Linked DNA regions of Homo sapiens: region 1 is linked to region 2. The links are contacts of gene promoters, found by promoter capture Hi-C in blood cells and fetal thymus (Javierre and others, 2016). All regions are on one chromosome and are shown on one strand. Each heading gives the region's core, a stretch centred on a gene start or on the middle of the fragment in contact. The rest is flanking DNA. Distances are from core to core; before and after follow the strand shown.

Region 1 (6,932 bases), core at 1,202-3,701, 1.1 Mb after region 2:
GAGGTCGAGGTGGGTGGATCACCTGAGGTCGGGAGTTTGAGACCAGCCTGACCAACGTGGAGAAACCCCATCTCTACTAAAAATAGAAAAATTAGCCTGGTGTGGTGGCGCATGCCTGTAATTCCAGCTACTCAGGAGGCTGAGGCAGGAGAATTGCTTGAACCCAGGAGGTGGAGGTTGCGGTCAGCCGAGATCGCGCCATTCCACTCCAACCTGGGCAACAAGAGCGAAACTCCATCTCAGAAAAAAAAAAAAAGGAAAAAGAAATGAATTTGTAAGGTTTCTAATGGAGAGCCAGGGTTTCTCCTCCTGTAAACAAAGTAATAAAAACAATTTTAAGAAGCTTTGTCATTTTTAAAAATGATTCAATCATCTAAGTCTAGAAAATAAAATGGTTATGGGACCAAACTAAAAAGAAAAAAAAGAAAAATTAGTGAAAAGGAGACCCTCCTTTTAATTTCTTCTGATTAAAAATTTTAAAGTGTGCATTGGATGGAAGGAAACGAGGTATGATATAATCTTAATTGTACATAGTGCCTAGTATATAACACGGGAAGCAGAAAGTTTATCTCCCAAACAAATATGACAATGAGTTATTGAAACCACAAGCCAGTTTATTTATCAATGATGTCAGTACTCAAAGTTGTCCAGTTAAAATCTACTTCCTCTTGAAAAACAAAAATACACTGAAGGAAGATGCAAAGAGCTAAAAGTGGTATCATGATTCCACAGCAGTGATTGTAAGACAGTGAGCCACAGGGAAATGGGAAAACGTGAAAAGAAACAAGTATCAGGACCAAATTAGAGAAGATATGAGTAGGGCCATCACTAGAGGTGAAAATGGAGAAACCTAAGAAAACCAGTGTTGGCATGAATTATGCAAGTGGAAAATACATCTGTAGAGGGACGAGATAGAAGGACCTAGATCTAACTCCAAGTGCTTGATTGGAGAAGAGAGGGAGAAAGAGAATTTATAGAATTAACTGTATAGAAGCCTAAAAAATAAGATTATCAGCCTAGTCATGTAAAGTCTAGAAGTTCCTTTATTTGCTCATCACCTTTCCTTTTTCTATAAGACTATTAAGCAGAAGGTCAGTAACAGAAAATTTACCCTTTCCTCTCCTCTCTTGGTTTAAATTTTATAAGGAATCTGAAGAGGCTATGGATCAGTTGGCATTACAGTGGGAAGAGCTTATTGAAGCAAGGTTGACAATAGGTCTTGTCATTCTGCTCCCTGAAAATGCCCTTCGACAACTGTGTCAGGCAGAAAGCACACACAAAGTGCTCAGGATGGAACTTGTACCCCATGGCACTGATACAACGGCCAGTGATGGGCTGCCCACACCCATGGCAGAGCGTTCCCCGGCGGTGATGGTAATGGAGCTCACAGAATGGACGTCCATCCAGTTCAAAGAAGGAGCCAGTAGAAAAACTGGTGAAGCAGTCCTGGGGTAGAGAGAAGAGAGAGAAAAAGAATGCAAATGTCAAGAGGTAAAATGTCAGCAAAGTAAAATTTTCAGCCTTGAAATTCCTGACAGTTACCTGCCAGCTACAGGAATTTCCCTCAGGTTCTTGACAAATGGAGACTAGATTTCCCGCTTGCAAAACAGACAAGCAAATGGATCTGTATCTCGTTTCTCCTTTAGGATGCGCACATCCATTCCTCATTCAGGACTGTGAACCCTTTCACTAACTGCAGCTCTTCCTCTCAGAGAGGAGAACCCTTGACTTTCCCTAAGTCCGAAAGAAAAGTGATTATACAGACCCCACAAACAAAGCACTCTGGGTGCCAGACAGTGTCCATGGCTGAAAGGTAGTTTTCCAACACTGGGCGATTGCAGCCACCACACTTGGGTGAGAACATGGCTAAGAAATCCTTTCGGCAATATGGCTTCTTGTCCTTCTCATGAAAGCCTGGAGAGATAAAATCAGGAATTCACTGTTGCAGGTTGAGCCCTGAAAGCTACACTGGAGACTGAGAGGAGGCCCTTTCAATCTCAGTGTCCTCATATTCAAAATAGGATGATTACTGTTACCTAATTCAAAGGGTAGTTGTAAGAAATAAATGAGATAATGCAGAGGAAGTGTTTTGGCATTGTGTCTGGTTCATAGTAAACATTTAATAAGTGTTAGGGGCTATTGCTCCTCAGTGCCTTTGTACTAAGTATTCCCTTGGCTTGGATAGTTCTGTCCCAGAGCCTGATATAGTTGTCCTCTTCATGTGATGCAAGAATCACTCAAATATCATCTTATCAGAGAGGCATCTCTTCAGTCCCTCCTTGTCACATCATCTTCTTTCACCGTCTTTATGGCATTTACCTTTATTTAAAATCATCTTTGTGGGCTGTCTCCCCTTACAGGAACATTAGCTCTGAGAGAAACTAGATATTGTTGATCTTGTCACCATTATATCTCTAATATCTAAAACAGCATCTGGGAAGAAAAAAAGCATCTGATATTTTAAAATAAAATACTACTAAATAATAATTTCCAGATGGATGCAAGATCTAAACACAATGACTCATACCATATATTTGAATTAAAAATAGATGTATTCCTCCTTTTTTTATTTTTTGTGTGGGTATATTATTTTTATTGTTTACCAGCAGTGTATGAAAATCCCAATTATTCCTCAGTCTTTACATCACTTGATATATCCATATATTTCCTTTTTAATCAATCAAATGGATGTTATCTATCTATACAATGTTATCTCATGGTAGTTTTGATTTGTATTTCCCGAAAGGCTAATGATACTTAGGGTTTTTTTAATGTGTGCATTTGCATTTCATATCTTGTCATTAATGATGTATTCCTCTTTAATCTGGAAACAGAAAAACTGTCATAAATAAAGCCCAAATTCCAAAAGCAAGTTAAATATTAATAAATTTAGCTACATAAAAATATATCTGAATGACTTACACATGTCAAAAAATCACCATAAACAAAGACAAATAACAATCTGAAGAAAATATTTGCTAATTATATTCCACTCCTGAGTATATGTATGGTTTCAACTATTGTTGTACATAATTAAAAAGTGAAAAAATTGGCCGGGCACGGTGGCTTGCACCTGTAATCCCAGCACTTTGGGAGGCCGAGGCGGGTGGATCACGAGGTCAGGAGATCGAGACCATCCTGGCTAACACGGTGAAACCCCGTCTCTACTAAAAATACAAAAAATTAGCCAGGTGTGGTGGCGAGCGCCTGTAGTCCCAGCTACTTGGGAGGCTGAGGCAGGAGAATGGCGTAAACCCGGGAGGCAGAGCTTGCAGTGAGCCGAGATCGCACCACTGCACTCCAGCCTGGGAGATAGTGAGACTCTGTCTCAAAAAAAAAAAAAAAAAGTAAAAAAATTAAAATGGAAAAACATGAATCCCTAAAAAATTGAATCAAATTGAAGAAAATTAACTGTATATCAAACTGATGACATGAGCAATAAAATAAATAATTTGGAGATTGCTGGCAGGATGACCGAATAGGAACAGCTCAGGTCTGCAGCTTCCAGTGAGATCGATGCAGAAGGCAGGTGATTTCTGCATTTCCAACTGAGGTAACCGGTTCATCTCATTGAGACTGATCGGACAGTGGGTGCAGCCCATTGAGGGCAAGCCGAAAAAGGGTGGGGTGTTGCCTCACCCAGAAAGCACAAGGGGTCAGGGAACTCCCTCTCCTAACAAAGAGAAGCCATTAGAAACTGTGCCGTGAGGAACAGTGCACTCCGGCCCAGATACTGTGCTTTTCCCATAGTCTTCACAAACCGCAGACCTGGAGATTCCCTCTTGTGCCTACGCCACCAGGGCCCTGGGTTTCAAGCACAAAACTGGGCGGCTGTATGGGCAAACACTGAGCTAGCTTTAGAAGTTTTTTTGTTTTTTGTTTTTCATAACCTAGATGCACCTGGAATGCCAGCGAGACAGAACTGTTCACTCCCCTGGAAAGGGGGCTTAAGCCAGGGAGCCAAGTGGCCTGGCTCGGTAGGTCCCACCCCCATGGAGCCCAGCAAGCTAAGATCCACTGGCTTGAAATTCTTACTGCCAGCACAGCAGTCTGAGCTCGACCTGGGATACTAGAATTTGGTGGAGGGAGAAGCATCCACCATTGCTGAGGCTTGAGCAGGTGGTTTTACCTTCACAGTGTAAACAAAGCCACTCAGAAGATCAAACTGGGTGGAGCCAACCGCAGCTCAGCAAGGCTGCTGTGGCTAGACTGCCTCTCTAGATTCCTCTTTTCTGGGCAGGCCATCTCTGAAAAGAAAAAGGCAGCAGCTCCAGTCAGGGGCTTATAGATAAAACCCCCATCTCCCTGGGACAGAGCACCCAGGGGAAGGGGTGGCTGTGGGCACAGCTTCAGTAGACTTAAACATCCCTGCCTGACAGCTCTGAAGAGAGCAGTGGATCTCCCAGCACAGGGTTCGAGCTCTGCTAAGGGTCAGACTGCCTCCTTGAGTGGGTCTGTGGCCCCCGTGTCTCCTGATTGGGAGACACCTCCCAATAGGGGCTAACTGACACCTCATACAGGAGAGCTCTGGCTGGCATCTGGTGGGTGCCCTGCTGGGATGAAGCTTCCAAAGGAAGGAACAGGCAGCAATCTTTGCTGTTCTGCAGCCTCTGCTGCTAATACCCAGGCAAACAGGGTCTGGAGTCGACCTCCAGCAAACTCCCGTGGACTTGTAGCAGAGGAGCCTGACTGTTAGAAGGAAAACTAACAAACAGAAAGGAATAGCATCAACATCAACAGAAAGGACATCCACTCAGACACTCCATCTGAAGGTCACCAACTTCAAAGACCAAACGTAGAAACACTCAAGAAGATGGGGAGAAACCAATGCAAAAAGGGTGAAAATCCCAAAAACCAGAATGCCTCTTCTCCAAAGGATCACAACTCCTCAACACCAAGGGAACAAAACTGGATGAAGAATGAGTCTGACGAACTGATAGAAGTAGGCTTCAGAAGGTGGGTAATAACAAACTCCTCCGAGCTTTATAAAGGAGCATGTTCTAACCCAATGCAAGGAAGCTAAGAACCTTGAAAACAGGTTAGACAAATTGCTAACTAGAATAACCAGTTTAGAGAAGAACATACATGACCTGATGGAGCTGAAAAATATAGCACAAGAACTTTGTGAAGCATACACAAGTATCAATAGCTGAATTGATCAAGCAGAAGAAAGGATATAAGAGATTGAAGGTCAACTTAATGAAATAAAGCAAGAGGACAAGATTAGAGAAAAAAGAATGAAAAGGAATGAATAAAGCCTCCAAGAAATATGGGACTATGTGAAAAAAACAAATCTACGTTTGACTGGTGTACCTGAAAGTTATGGGGAGAATGGAACCAAGCTGAAAAACACTCTTCAGGATATTATCCAGGAGAACTTCCTCAACCTAGCAAGACAGGCCAACATTCAAATTCAGGAAATACAGAGAACACCACAAAGATACTCCTCAAGAAGAGCAACCCCAAGACACATAATCATCAGATTCACCAAGGTTGAAATTGAGGTGACAATGTGCTTGCAACCCTTGCTCGCTCTTGGCACGTCCTTGGCCTCGGCATCCACTCTGGCCACGCTTGAGGAGCCCTTCAGCCTGCCGCTGCACTGTGGGAGCCCCACTCTGGGCTGGCTGAGGCTGGAGCCAGCTCCCTCTGCCTGCGGGGAGGTGTGGACGGAGAGGCACGGGCAGGAACTGGGGCTGCATGCGGTGCTCGTGGGCCAGCACGAGTTTCGGGTAGCACGGGATCAGCAGGCCCCGCACTCAGAGTGGCCGGCCAGCACCGCCAGCCCCAGGCAGTGAGAGGATTAGCAACTGAGACAGCAGCTGCGGAGGGTGCACTGGGTCCCCTAGCACTGCTGGCCCACCTGTGTCATGCTCGAATTCTTGCCAGGCCTCAGCTGCCTCCCTGTGGCGCAGGGCTTGGGATCTGCAGCCCGCCATGCCCGAGACCCCCACAGTGGGCTCCCATGCAGCCCAAGCCTCCCCGACAGGTGCTGCCCCCTGCTCCGAGGCGCCCAGTCCCATCGACCGCCCAAGGGCTGAGGAGTGTGGGCGCACGGCACGAGACTGGAGGGCAGCTCCGCCCGCAGCCCTGGCATGGGATCCACTAGGCGAAGCCAGCTGGGCTCCTGAGTCAGGTGGGGACTTGGATAACTTTTATGTCTAGCTAGAGGATTGTAAATGCACCAATCAGCACTCTGTGTCTGGCTCAGGGATTGTAAATGCACCCATCAGCACTCTGTGTCTAGCTAAAGGTTTGTAAATGCACCAATCAGTGCTCTGTGTCTAGCTAATCTAGTGGGGACTTGGAGAACTTTTGTGTCTAGCTAGAGGATTGTAAATGCACCAATCAGCACTCTGTGTCTAGCTCAGGGATTGTAAATGCACCAGTCAGCACCCTGTCAAGACAGACCAAACAGCTCTCTGTAAAATGGACCAATCAGCTCTCTGTAAAATGCACCAATTAGCAAGATGTGGGTGGGGCCAGATAAGGGAATAAAAGCAGGCTGCCCGAGCCAGCAGTGGCAACCCACTTGGGTCCCCTTCCACACTGTAGAAGTTTTGTTCTTTCACTCTTTGCAATAAATCTTGCTGCTGCTCACTCTTTGGGTCCGCACTGCCTTTATGAGCTGTAACACTCACCGCGAAGGTCTGCAGCTTCACTCCTGAGGCCAGCGAGACCACGAATCCACCAGGAGGAATGAACAACTCCAGATGGGAGGAATGAGCAACTCCAGACGCACCGCCTTAAGAGCTGTAACACTCACCGTGAAGGTCTGCAGCTTCACTCCTGAAGCCAGCGAAACCACAAACCCATCAGAAAGAAGAAACTCCGAACATGTCTGAACATCAGAAGGAACAAACTCCGGACACACCATCTTTAAGAACTGTAACACTCACCGCAAGGGTCCGCGGCTTCATTCTTGAAGTCAG
Region 2 (7,050 bases), core at 1,399-3,898:
TGTCCTTCTCTGGGCCTCAGGAGCCTTTTCTATAAAAAGAAATGATCGGACTGATCTAGCTCAGAGTGCTATGATTTCAGGACTACAGTCCCAAGGTTATCAGGCTCCCTTAGCATTTGGGGGTCTTGTAAGGCATGGAGTAAAAAAAAAAAAGCAATATCCTAAGGCTGGAGAAGAGGGAGGGGACAAAGGAAGGGGAGGAAAGGGGAGGTAGCAGGGAGCCAAGGACCAAGAAGGACTGAGGTACAGTCATTCTGCATCCAAAGGCTTAAATTGTAAGGGACTGGCTTTACTCTGGCTGTTTCCGGAAAGGCAGGCCCAGCCAGCCCTCCCGTCTCTCTCTCTGACAGCCAATCTCACATGTGCCTCCCTGGGAGCACCTGCTCTGAGCTGTATCAGCCCCCAGCAGGCCGCTGATTACCACTGAGCCTGGCCACAGAGCACGAGATTAGGATGCAGCAACACACTGTGTGTGAGATCACGTCCCGAACCTTCTGACTCATCTGCACAGGAAACCCCCCCAGTCTCCCCTCCAGTCAGAAGGGACCTGAAATTCCACCAGTGGCAATACCAAAGAAACTTCCTATTAGCTAAGCCCCTAGGGAGTGATTGGCTGTTGGGGCGGGGAGGGGGGGCGGTGAGGAGGATGAGGATGAAGCCTGGGCAACCTGGATGTGAGGCTGTGCAGGGGATGAGGACAAGGATCCTTGGGGTGAAGGAAGAGAAGAGCAATTTTAGGTTTTGCTAATTTTGTAACCCTGGCTCCAAGCCAGCCCTTACAGGAAGTCACCCTGGCCTCCGGCTCAATTCAGCACGTGATAGGGAAGCCACATTTATGCAGAGCAGGGAACGAGGTAAGGAAATGGAAGTGGGGCTGTGGTGAAGTGGGCAAGTCTAGAGAGAGTCCCGCTGCCTGGGGCTGTTCCTAACAGCTGCTGGGAGCGAGCTGCAGGTGTGGTGCCTGGCAGGGTGGCCGGGCTGTCTGACTCTGGATTTCACTCCAAGCTAGGCTGCTGCCTGAAGGATTCCTCTTACCCACCTTTGCCTGGGCTGGCCTTTGGGACTTACATGGCTATGAGGCGTGCCACGGTGGTCTTGAACCGGTCAAAGATGTAGCCAGTGGGGAATGTCATGAAGTTGTTCATGAAGGACCCCAGGGTGAAGATGAGTGAGAACCTCTCATCCTGGGCTTTGCAGTCTGGAGTAGAAAAAAGGTCTCCCATGCATCCCAGCCTTCCTGCCAAATGAGCACACAGGCTGGGCTCCCCTCCACCTCAGACAGCTTGTCGGTCGCAAACTTGTCCCTTAAGCTGAGTTGAAATGTGGCTGCCCCTAATTACCCCTCAGGAGCTGGTGCCTCCCTCCCAGGCACTTCCCAGATCAAGTGGGGTGAGAGCTGCTGACCCTTCCTCTCATCATAGAAAGAGGGGTGGGCAGGGGGCAGAGTCCTTCCTGCTCCTTGCCACCACGTGGGAGCCAGACTTAACTTCCTTAGAAAAGTCATCCCTGCCCTTACCAGCCTGCCCTGTGGCATTGCCAATCGGCCCAGCATCTGGTCCACACAGATCCTTAAAGTAATCTTCATTCTTGAAGACAAACACTAGTGAAGGCCAGCCAAAGAGGACGCCAGCAAAGCCCAGGCATTCCAGCAGCCCAGTCAGCAGTGTGGCCACGTGCAGGGGCAGGCCCTGGCCCGCCATGAGCAGAAGTGGAGTGGATCTTCAAATCCCACTTTGTCCTCCTGGACGGATCACAGGCGCCGTAAGCCTGGCGTTTGAGCACTTGGAAAATTCCTCTGGCAAGCCAAGCCCTTCCTTTCCCGTAGCTCTCTGGTTGTTTCAGGCCTGGGCAAAAACCATCAGCGGGTGATTCTCTGGATCCTGTAGAATAAAGATAGAGGCTGCTGGAAGAGGAGGCCTGCGGGAAAGGGAAAGGTAGACTAGAGTTATTTGTGAGGTGCATTAAGAGGCAGGATGATCATGGCCGCTGGCAGCAAATGTGGGGAATAAATACTCCAATACATCATCTTAGGCACTGCATTTGAGTAACCACGTGGCAAGTAGAGAGGCAGGTCTTGATGGCCACCTGGAGTCACAGGTGAGATAAACGACTTACCCAATAGCTCCCCGGGAGCAGGTGGAGAAGCGGAGCTCCTGCGCTCGAATTCTGAATACCGTCCCCTAAAATAATGACAGCAACTCAACCAGGTGCAGAGGCAGGGAGATTTCATACAGAAGACACAAACTCCCGCTGCCAAGTTGGTGTTATCTTCAGTTTACTGACAATGAAACAAAAGCTCCCATGGATTTCAGGAACTTGCCCAAGGTCACAGGGCTAGTTTAGTCACGACGCAGGCCATTCTACTGCCAGAAATACCCCCAACTCCCATGACCCTCGCCTAGGACTCGCAAACCTGGTCCCCGCCGCCCTTCCTCGCATCAACTTCTACCAGGAAAGCCTCCGGGGGCCGCTCCCCGCCAGCCTCCGCACCCCGCTCCAGCCTGCGGCCTGCCCTCCCCGCAGAGGAGCCCGAGGGGCCAGGCCGCGCTCGGCGCCCCATGGCGCCCGAAAGGGGACCCTTCGCCCTACCCGCCTGCTCCGCGCCGGGGCTCTCCGCGCCCTTTCCGCACGGGCCAGGTTCGCATTCGCGCCTCTCGCAGCCCCTCCCAGTCCCCTGCTCGCCTCCGCCCCCTCCTGCCCGCCCGGAAGGGGCTGGGGCAGACCTCCCACTCTCCATCACTTCCTTCTTCTTTTCCCTTGCTCACAGCCTCCCGCGCCCTTTTTACCTCTCCCTCTTGAAACTTCTCCCTCTAGAACCCCCTAGAACCCCAGCGGTGTCTTTCCCTCCCTCCTCGCTGCCTTTCAGCCTCCCAGCCCCCTTGCCTCTGCCTCCCCTAACCAAGTTAGTTGAATGCTGTTACTCGCTCAGGCCCACCTAGGGAAAATGTCACACCCAGCACCCAGAGGACACACAGACAGCACATGAGGGCATAGGGACACACACACTCTATTTGTGCATTTTGCCTTGACCGCTGGGTTGGCAGGGAACATATTTTTCCTATTTGCTCACCAGCTTAACCGTCTCTCCCAGTTTCACACTCCCAGAGCTGCCAAAAAAATCCCAACCACAGAATCAGGAAGCCAAGAACCAGGACTGAGGGCTTTTCAGAAACCATCCCCTGGAGGACTGCCCCATATTTTCACTCCCAAAAACCCCTTAGATGACTCCCTGCCTCACCCCCGCCCCCCAGGTTCTGAAAGAGCCTTCCCGCCAGACTGCATTGATTAACCATTCATTGCCCCATTTTTTATTAATCAAAGACATATATAATTGCTCATCGGAGCTTGTGATCAGCGTGAGGCCTTACTAAGCAGCTGCCTTACTATCCTTCCAGCCCAGAGCACGTGAGCTGACGTCTTCTTTGGCCTGTGTGGCCGTTTCCTTGCCAAAAGCTCAGTTTGGGGAGAGCTTCTTGCGTATTAGATGCAGTCTGCAGACTCCCAACCCCAGCTACCTGGATCCCCTGAGGGCCCAGGAACTCCAGCTATTCCAAGCCCACTCCTCTTTTTTTTAAGAGGAAGAAATAGAGGTTACGATAGGGGACAGCCAGAACTGAGGATTTTCCAGCTCACCACCAAAGCACAAAAGATAAAAGTCTGCAACCACCCTAGTGACTTGACTGAATGGAGGAAGGGTGGCTGGGGTCCTGTACCCCAAGCTACTCACTAGTTATACAACCTGAGGCAAGCTCTTTGGCTGCCCCACCTGTAAGACGAGGACAATAGTACCTTAATTATAGGAATTGTCATAAAAGAAGTATAAGATGGGTGTATGAGGTCCCTGCATGGCGCAGGTGCTATAGGCAGATTGTAGGGTAGTAGATTTTCTAGTCTGCAGTTATGTAGACAGAGCCAGAGAAGCAGCTCTGGGGAGGAATTTCAAAGGAACTTGCCCACGGTCATTCTACAAAGCTGCAGTACCTTCCCAACTCTGAAACGTATGCTCTCATCACCCCGTCTTAACAAACATTTGGACATTAGAGAAAACAAGTCTTTTCTTAAAATAACATTATTTATGGGAGAAAATCCACAAAAATATAGCATCCCAGGACAAACAGGGCTTAAGATGCAAGATTTTCTATTTTACTGCAAGACACAAAGACTCTGAAATTAATGCATGCCCTATCTTCTGCTCTGGCATACATTTTAGTCTCCTGGGGGGATCAGTAAGTGTGGAAGTAGCAAGGGAGAAACAGAAAAAAGTCAAAGTAAAGAGACAGATTTTAGAATGTTAATCTGCAGGAGCCTGCCAGAAAGATCTAGCTCATGGGCTATCTGTACATCCAGGACTGAAGCACGGGACACGGGGCAGGTCGTCCAGGGTTCTGTCCACCTTATCTTGTTACCTCTCTTGACTCTTAGAGCCTCCACTCCACATCTCCCATCAATGTCTGCAGAAGACGTGGCCTCCACTAACACAAGTCTTACTGAACTGATGGGACAGGAAATTAGAATATCCTCTGAACCATTCCCATGTTCTTTGGTTCGAATTCCAGCAGCTAGAAAAGGCAGATGCTATTCTGATCACTCTCCTGCGTGGCTCCAATGAGGATTAATGAGTAACATCAGAGAGAGAAGTGATTATAATAAGGTCTGACGGTGCACCCGATGTCTTCATCCTTTTCTCTTCGCCTCCTTCCTCATCATCTCACACCTTTTTTTTTTTAATTGACTGATTGGTTCAACAAATACATGTGGTACCTCAGGCTCTGTGCCAAGTGCCGGGATTCGTAGAGAAGAGATTCAGTGCCTGCTCTCAAGGGGCTCATTCTCTTGTGGGAGAGACAGACAAAGAAACCCAAGATTTCTGGAGTGTGGGAATGGTCTTCCAGGCAGATGCTAGCACAGCACATTGAAAGGCACGGAACCTCAACAAAACAATAACATTTAGGAACCAGCTAGAGCACAGGGTGGTGAAGAAAGTGGAAAGATTTGAGGCCAGCGTCGCCATCTAAGTGAGGGCATTAAGAATTCAGCCCACATCAATCAATCATGTCCTATTGATTTCACCCCTTAATATCTCTCCTATCTATCCGTGGCCACTGCTCTATGCAGACACTCATCATCTCTCACAGAGGCATCATCTGCTTCCAAGCCATCGCCATTCTCCTGCAAGAGTTTATTTCCATGGTTCCCACTGGATGGCTTCACTTAACTGCTCAAAACCCTTCTGAGGTCCAGTCAACTGGCTGGTAAGGACCAGTCCAGGGTCTGGGGATGCCAGCCATGAGACATTGCTTTGAGGGGAAGAGGGAGCATAGAACTGGATCTCCTGCATCCTACTGCCCAAGTACCAATGCTGGAGGTGGTTTTCCTTCCCATCATCAGCAAGTCTGGATATCCAGGATCCACCCTATGGATGTTTTTATGGACAGAGTGGGAAGATGGATATGTTTAGGTTAGGGAAAGAGGGTTTGCCAAAGAGGGCAGTATAAGTGAGCTGCACTCCATCATTCCCCTGGCACAAACAATGGCTAGTATCCTCTAGTCCTCAAGAGCACCACCTTCCAATGCAGTCCCTGCCTGTCCACAGACCTCTCTCCTCAAACTTCCTCTGAACAACCTCAGCGAGGGCAATTGCCACTCTCTGGGCAGAGTCCAGATATTCTCTCCTACCCTCTGACATCACTTTCTAAATTTGTATATGTAGATAAACTCTGAGCCATTCACATAAAGGGCTTTGATTTCGGATACGCCAAACACATAAACAAACAAACATAAGCTTTCCTTTCACAATGGGCTCATGTAAATTAAAATGTTTGGTTTTCCACCTACGGTCTTGAAAGGGGTTTCTACAGCCTGTTTTGGAAGTCAGAAAGCAAAAGGTAAATGCAAACATCATTTCACCTGCAGAGAAAATTCTAATCCTCTTGAGGCAGTGCCAAAAATAATACAAGCACACTGCTATCGAGCCAATTACTGGTATCTCTGAGCTTCCGTCTCCTCATCTATAAAATTGGAATCGAGCTGTATGGATTAAAGATAATGTATGAAAACTGCCCAATTAGTACACTATTAATAAATAGCAGCTACTGTTGTTAACAAATATTATTGACTTACTGGAAAACAAAGAGGAAATAAAGTCACATTTAGGGAGAATTTCAAAGTGTTCCTAACCTAAAAAAGAAATAAATTAGGGGGAAAACCACTAAGTAATGGGTGAGCTCAGTTTACCTTGCTTAAGAAGTCCCACCCTAGAGAACTGATCTCTAGATGACACCCAAATGCACTCAGTACAACCCCCCAAGACTGTCTGGGCTTAAGGCAGGGGCTTGGATTGTCCTGTAAGCTGTGGGAAGTCTGTTCATGAGCCACAGTAGACAGGAAGGGGATGGAGTCTTAGAGCTGGCTCTTCAGGGTATCTCCTAGTGTGTTCAAAGCAGTTCTCAGGAGGGTGGGGAACTACTACATAGCCAAGTAAATATGAGGCCTCCTTGCTCTGGGGAGACCTTTCTCTTTAACAGAGGTGAATCTGAAAGGATACCCAAAGAGGCACTGGAGGGTGGGGGCCACTCTGGCCCCTCAGAGCAGCCAGCTCAGCTTCAGTGGATGCTAGAGGCAGCAGAGGATCAGCCTGGATCAGCCTCCCTTTCACCATGCAGAAAACAGAGCTCCCCCACCAGACCAGATACTGGAAGCACTGGGCCAGGCCTAAGAGAAAGCAGAGCCCCAAGCCCCACCACACCAGGGCTTATGAGGCTACTGCTACCCACCCTCCCAAGCCCCAGCTCCACTTCTATGTTCATCAAGCAACTGTTTACTGGTAACTGCACTTCCCGATAGACTTTGCTAGAAAGGAATGCCTCAGTGCACTGACAATATCTAAACCTGCAACTCTAAGGACTAGGCTGGGGAACACTGTGTCAACATGGAGGCACGTCCTACCCCTGAGAAGAAAAATAAGGAATATCAATAATACCTGCTGGGCACTGAGCACTGACTATGTATCTGATTCGAAGCGCTTTTTGCTTAATCTGTCACTGAATCTCA

What was found. Contacts are between HindIII fragments. The CHiCAGO score rates a contact against its expected background, and 5 or more counts as called.
Region 1: a fragment that was not itself captured here is called in contact with the fragment with the promoter of SLC43A3 in region 2 in 3 of 17 cell types (activated CD4 T cells, total CD8 T cells and naive CD8 T cells); the score reaches 7.4 in activated CD4 T cells.

What each region holds. Positions count from the first base shown.
Region 1 is chr11:58,526,278-58,533,209 of GRCh38, forward strand. LPXN (leupaxin) reads right to left here. Exons shown (of 9, transcript NM_004811.3): 8 at 1,766-1,914; 9 at 594-1,446. The coding sequence ends at 1,177. Among named protein-coding and RNA genes, the nearest start is that of OR5B21, 22 kb to the left of the region's middle. The HindIII fragment of the contact is 4,221 bases long and covers 342-4,562 here.
Region 2 is chr11:57,424,473-57,431,522 of GRCh38, forward strand. It overlaps SLC43A3 (solute carrier family 43 member 3), which reads right to left and starts at 2,649. Exons shown (of 14, transcript NM_199329.3): 1 at 2,590-2,649; 2 at 2,116-2,180; 3 at 1,517-1,880; 4 at 1,069-1,198. The coding sequence starts at 1,700. RefSeq lists enhancers at 581-1,373, 1,066-2,265, 1,374-2,166 and a silencer at 2,409-2,768. The HindIII fragment of the contact is 9,438 bases long and covers 1-5,780 here.